Regions from separate parts of the Homo sapiens genome. Here region 1 is linked to region 2. Evidence: promoter capture Hi-C in 16 types of primary human blood cells and fetal thymus (Javierre and others, 2016). All regions are on one chromosome and are shown on one strand. Each heading gives the region's core, a stretch centred on a gene start or on the middle of the fragment in contact. The rest is flanking DNA. Distances are from core to core; before and after follow the strand shown.

Evidence for each region. The method cuts DNA at HindIII sites, captures the fragments that hold promoters and counts their contacts. A CHiCAGO score of 5 or more calls a contact.
Region 1: a contact is called between a fragment that was not itself captured here and the fragment with the promoter of HDHD3 in region 2, in 1 of 17 cell types (erythroblasts). The highest score is 5.7, in erythroblasts.

The regions. Positions count from the first base shown.
Region 1 is chr9:113,577,965-113,581,135 of GRCh38, reverse strand. All of the region lies in intron 17 of RGS3 (regulator of G protein signaling 3), which reads right to left. Among named protein-coding and RNA genes, the nearest start is that of RGS3, 120 kb to the right of the region's middle. RefSeq lists an enhancer at 1,926-2,015. The HindIII fragment of the contact is 1,505 bases long and covers 705-2,209 here.
Region 2 is chr9:113,375,736-113,378,945 of GRCh38, reverse strand. HDHD3 (haloacid dehalogenase like hydrolase domain containing 3) reads left to right here and starts at 1,960. Exons shown (of 3, transcript NM_001304509.2): 1 at 1,960-2,217. RefSeq lists a silencer at 1,589-2,108. The HindIII fragment of the contact is 9,890 bases long and covers 130-3,210 here.

The sequences.
Region 1 (3,171 bases), core at 208-2,707, 200 kb before region 2:
CCCACCAGGGAGCATTCTCCATCAGGAGAAACAAACTGCCCTGCAGCCAGCTCCCTGGGGCCCCTCAGTCCTATCACCCTACCACATGGCCAGACCTCCCCCCGACCCACCCCCTGGCCCAGCCACCTGCCTCTGATAGTCCTTGGGGAAAGACGGAAGGAAGCAGCAACCGGGTGCCCTCAGGGCCTGGCACGGAGTGGCACAGAGTGGCACTGAGTGGGGAGCGGGCCGCATTTCCCCTTTCCTGGGTGGTGAGGGTGGGGCCCAGGCCTGTCCCAGTGGTGACTGTCAGTCAGAGCCCGCCCACCCCTTGGGGAAAGTGCAGCAACAAACCCAAAACCAGAAATGCAAGTCAGCCTGCCTCTGCCAACCCTGTTCTAAATCGAGGCCAAACCAAACAAAGCCAGGAGGGGAAGTGCCACTCAGGCAGGGGTACTGCCCCCAGAGGGCACCTACCCAGAGAGATCAGCCGAGAAACTAACCAAGATGGAAGGGTTCTCAGAGGGCCCAGTGGTTATGTGCTCAGATACCCGAGCCAGGCTGATTTTGATCCCAATGGGGCCACTTTTTAGCTGTGCAACTCTGGCCAAGCCTCTCAACACCTCAGAGCCTCCGTTTCCTCATCTGGAATTGAGCCCAGTGATATCATACTGGACTCACAGGACTATTTGAGTCTCCTCACAGTGCCTGGCCCTGGAAAAGCTTTTGATACAATGGGAGCTATCAGTGGTCTTATTTTAGAGATAAGAAACCTGGGGTCCCAGAGGGTAAAGGAATTACCTAAGAATGAGAGGCTGATGCAGGATTAGAACTCATATCTCCTGCCCAGGGTCTCTCCCTGTTTCCTTGGAGCCTTACACACAAGTGTTTGGGGACCTCAGAGGGCTGTAGAAGGAGGAGGAACAGCCTGGAGTGCTGCCTGAGGCCCCGCACCTGGGTGCATCCCACATCAGCAGATGCTGGCGAACAGGGCCCAGAGCTCATGGTTCTTTCTGTGCTCCCAGGCAGGTCTGTATGAACAGGGACTGCGTGCAGGTTTGGTAAGGCCCCTGTTCTTGGGAGAGCTGGGGTGGGAAGTGGTTTGACGGGAGCTCCGGAGCAATTATAGGAAACCCGAGAAACCCAGGGGTGGGAGGGTGGCAAGTGTAGGAGAAAATTAGGGCAGGAGGGGAGGCAAAGATGAGGGGGAGGTTGCAGAACACATGGTGGGCATGGGATTTGCCCTGTGAGCAACGAAATGCCACAGGCAGAGCTGTGCTGTGTCAAAGCTGCTCTGGGGAATGTGGGCAGGATGTGTGGATGGCAGGGAGGACTGGGGCACGCATACATTCATGCATTCTCCAAGCACTGAGGTAGGTACTAGGAGGACGGCAGGGAACAAGTCAGACACAATCTCTGCCCTCAGTTAAGTAGAAAAAACAGAGGTTAGACAACTAGTTTGAAGGAGCATGGGGACTGCTCTGATAGAGGAAGTACAGGCAGCTGGGGACCCAGTGAGACAGCTGTTGCAACAGCTGAAGTAACAAGAATCCAGCCAGGGCGCCCCAGGAAGACCAGCTTGCTCACCCAGGGCCTTGGGTCTAGAGTGCTGGAAGCCACTGCCCCACCCTCCCAAGGTGGGGGTCTGTGTCTTTCCCATCCATCACTTCTTTGGCTTGGCTGGACCAGGTTAATTCTGCCCATGTCTCATCTGCTGTAAGCACACAGGAAATGAACCAGGCCCTCTAAATGGAGTCACTGTTTAGGACCTAATCAAATCCTCTCCCAAATCCAATCCAGAGCTCAGAATAGGCTAAGGAGGGATGGCAGCTATGACACCCAGAGTTCACACTCATACCAGCTTTGGCTCCTGGGCCCCAGATGCCCACCGGATGTTGGGTTGAGGGTAGTGGTGGGCTGCTGAAAGTGACTTGTCCAACATCACACAGCTACTCACTGAGCAGCCAGGTTTGCTGACCCAGGGACAACCTGCAGCTCTCACTCCGATGATTCATCACAGCCACCACGGATGCCGGGCTCTGCATCTGCCCTCGAAAACCACTTCCTGCACTGGGGGGGTGTAAACTGGGGTTTGCCTCTGTCTCAGGGTGGCCCTTAACAGCCAGGATTTTACTGACAGAGCACTGGACATGCAGCCAGAAGACCTGGACTGGAATCTTCACTCCATCATTTGCTAGCTGTGTGATCCCAAGCTACCCCACTCCAAGCTTGGTTTTCTCTGCCATGAAAGTGGGTGAGGATGCCTGCTGCTTCCTGTGCCAGAGACCTAAGGGGACCAAGTGAGAAAGGGCAGGAAGGCACTCTGTGAACTGTAAAGTCCTTTGAGAAAGGGAGAGGCTGTTAGAATTCCTGCCCTGCCTTGGACCCCCAGGCTTTCAAGATGGGCTGTTCCTTCAAGCTTGGCATGCTCTGGATCCCTAGCCTCAGGTCCCTGACTCAATGCTAGCTTCCAGGAACCTTGATGGCTCAGCTAACACTTAGCTCTCCTGGCTCAGCGTCAGCCCAGCTCCTCCAGGTCTGGCCTCTTGACCACCCAGAGGCTGACACCCCCAGTCCTTCCTCCGCCACCAGCTCAGAGACCCTCCAGGCCATACTCCTCTCCCCTCTACCTCCACTGTCTCCAACACAGCAGGTTTGGCAAAATTCAGGAGGATGGAGGCGGTACTTACATTAGGGGGAGCTCCAGATACTAACTTCACACTTACTTGCTGGGTGACCTTTGGCTTAACCTTTCTGTGCCTCAGTTTCCTTAGCCATAACATAGGATTTCTAGAATCTCCTCACAATGTTGTTAGAGGAATAAATGAGCTAATGAGTATCCAGAGCTCAGCACCATGAGGGCACCCATGAGCACTCAATAAACGATAGCCATGGTCACTCCAGCACAGCGTGGCCTTAACATCTCCCTCCCTGAATTTCACCCCTTCTCCACCCTCTCATGGGCCTGTCTGCCTGTCCATCAGGACCTGCTGCAGGGCCCCTCTCATCACAGTCCTGTCCACTCCCTTGGGAACCCACCCACTCCCCAGGCCACAATCGCTATCTGCACCATCTGGCCACTGATGACTCGCAGTCCACTCTGCCAGCCCTGACCGCTTTCCTGAGTTGAGATGCCACAGGCAAGTATTCAACAAATCCTCATGGAATAGTTCTGCATCCAGACACTGTTCT
Region 2 (3,210 bases), core at 711-3,210:
TGCGGCAAGACCCTCTCAAAGGGGCCTGGGTGGTGGGGGCTGTCTTATGACCTGTCTTGCCTAAGGTCATAGTGCAAGGTGATGAGACTAAAGAGGAACAGAGCACAGGCACAGAAGTATCTCAAAGCTTCCCCTCCGGTACCTCCCCAGCCTCTTTGGCCCAAACCCCCTGGCTAGCAACATTCCTATAGTTCCTCAGTGTCTCTTTGGTTCGGAAAAAAAACTTTCTTGCCTGGAGGCCTTTGCATCAGGGGGTCCCTTAACCATCACTCAGATCCTTCCCCTCTGCATGGCCAACTCTCATATGTTTGTATTTTTTAGTTTTTTGAGACTAACATGCATTACATGCATACCTTATTTATTTATTATTTTTTTATTTTTTTATTTTTTTGAGATGGAGTTTTGCTCTTGTTACCCAGGCTGGAATACAGTAGCCTGATCTTGGCTCACTGCAACCTCCACCTCCCCGGTTCAAGCGATTCTCCTTCCTCAGCCTCCCAAGTAGCTGGGAATACAGGCATGAACCACCTCGCCTAATTTTGTATTTTTAGTAGAGACGGGGTTTCACCGTGTTGGCCAGGCTAGTCTTGAACTCCTGACCTCAGGTGATCCACCCACCTCAGCCTCCCAAAGTGCTGGCATTACAGGCGTGAGCCACCGCGCCCAGCCAACATACATTACTTTTGCAAACAAAGATAAAACTCTTTTTTTATTCTTCAAAAGAATAAAAAAGCTCCCTGGTGGTCTAGTGGTTAGGATTCCAGGCTCTTACCACAGGGATCTTTTTTTTTTTTTTTTTTTTTGGGGACACAGTCTCGCTCTTTGCCCAGGCAAATATTGTGCAGTGGCAGAATCTTGGCTCACTGTAAGCTCCGCCTCCCGGGTTCATGCCATTCTCCTGCCTCAGCCTCCCGAGTAGCTGGGACTACAGGCACCTGCCACCATGCCCGGCTAATTTTTTGTATTTTTAGCAGAGACAGGGTTTCACCGTGTTAGCCAGGATGGTACCACAGGGTTCTTAAAAACAAAAAGAGGCCAGGTGCGGTGGCTCATGCCTGTAATCCCAGCACTTTGGGAGGCTGAGGTGGGCGGATCACCTGAGGTCAGGAGTTCAAGACTAGCCAGGCCAACACGGCGAAACCCTGTCTCTACTAAAAATACAAAAATTAGTTGGGTGTGGTGGCACACACCTGTAATCCCAGCTACTGGGGAGTCTGAGGCAGGAGAATCGCAAGAAACTGGGAGGCGGGGGTTGCAGTGGGCTATCGCGCCACTGCACTCCAGCCTGAGCGACAGAGGGAGACTCCGTCTCAAAAAAAAAAAAAGAGAAAGAATAAAAAAGCAGGTTACTGCAGCGGACTCTACCCTCACCAAGTTATCTTGGATTTAACAAGTTTCCAACTGAAAGCAATTCCCTCCAATACCAACTGGGGACCCTGAGACCAGAGAGGGGCTGGGCCTTGCCCAGGTTCACACAACACTAAGCAAGCCAGGCTGGGTCCCAACTCCCCTCCTCCCACTCAACCTGGGTACTTCTCGGGGGTTTCCCGATCCAAAGGAGGCCAGGAGCCGGGGTTGGGGATGGGGAGCGGAGACAGCGGTGAGGAGCGGCGGTGTGGCGGGCAGGGGGTGCGCAGACAGGGCGGAGAAGGTGCTGGTAACGGGGGCTGCGGAGCGGAAGGGTGCGGGCTGGGGAACCTCAGAGGGTGCGGGGAGGGAATAAGGGGCGTAGATGGTGCAGGGTAACGGAGGCGCGCAGTGAAGGCGGGTGACAGGGGCGCAGAGAGGTGCACAGTGAGACGAAGGAGGGAGAGGGGACGGCGAGGGCGACGGGAGATGGGGCGGGAGAGGGCGAAGGTGAGGGGGATAAGGGCGGGGACGGGGCGGGGACAGAGGCGGGTCGGGATGGTAGGGAGGGGCGGCCCGCGCGATCCCCGCCCCACCGCCCGGCGCTTGCGCACCTCCGCCCGAGCTCGCGGGCCTTGCGGCTGCGTTTTCAATCTGCTTCCTTGTGAGTCAGGTGGGTCCTGGGCCCAGGAACCGGCCCGGAGCCGTGGACGCCCTACAGCTGAGAAGGGGACCCAAGGGGTCGGCCGCGGCCAAGGCCCCTAGGACCGCCGCCCCAGCTCACGCTGCCGACGGCAGCTATAGACATTCTGCGTCAGGTCCGGGCTCCTGGACTTCGCCTTTCCCGAGCCCTGGAGGTGGGGAGAAAAGGTGAGCAGTTCGTGCCTGCAGCGCAGAGCCCCAAACCCGCGGTTTTAGAAATCGAAAAAGCCCTGCCGGGCGCGGTGGCTCACGCCTTTACCGTAATCCCAGCACTTTGGGAGGCCGGGGGGCGGGGTGGGGCGGGGGAGGATCACGAGTTCGGGAGTTCGAGACCAGCCTGGCTAACATAGTTGAAACCCCGTCTCCACTAAAAATACAAAAATTAGCCAGGTGTGGTGGCGCGCGCCTGTAGTCCCAGCTACTCTGGAGGCTAAGGAAGGAGAATCGCTTGAATCCGGGAGGCGGAAGTTGCAGTGAGCCGAGATCGCACCACTGTACACCTGGGTGACAGAGTGAGACTCTGTCTCAAAAAAAAAAAAAAAGAAAAAAAGCCGGCCGGGTATAGTGGCTCACGCCTGTAATCCTAACACTTTGGGAGGCTGAGGTCGGGAGTTCGAGACCAGCCTGGCCAACATGGAGAAACCCCGTCTCTACTAAAAATACAAAAAAAAAAGGAGCCGGGGATGGTGGCGCATGCCTGTAATCCCAGCTACTTGGGAGGCTGAGGCAGGAGAATCGCTTGAACCTGGGAGGCGGAGGTTGCAGTGAGCCGAGATCGCGCCATTGCACTTCAGCCTGGGCAACAAGAACGAAACTCCGCCTCAAAAAAAAAAAAAAAAAAAAAAAAAAGCCGTGGGTCAGGAGCCAGAGCCCTCTGCTCTAGTCTTAGCTGTGCCAATGTGACTCCCTGTGTGATTTGGGGGTAAATTACTGCCCCTCACTGGGTCTCTGTCTACCCACCTGCAAAATGAGAGGATCTTTGGATGAGTCTCCTTAATTCATTTCCTGGACAAACTTCCTCCAAGGCTCCCCCAGATTTACCAGTGACGCCCTTCCCTAAGTATCAACTTAGCCGTACTTTGAACTCTGGCCCCTCAGGTTTCAAGGGGACGGCCTTGTCTGGGATCAGCTCTGTCTGGGGAAAGAAGCTGCACCAGCCTC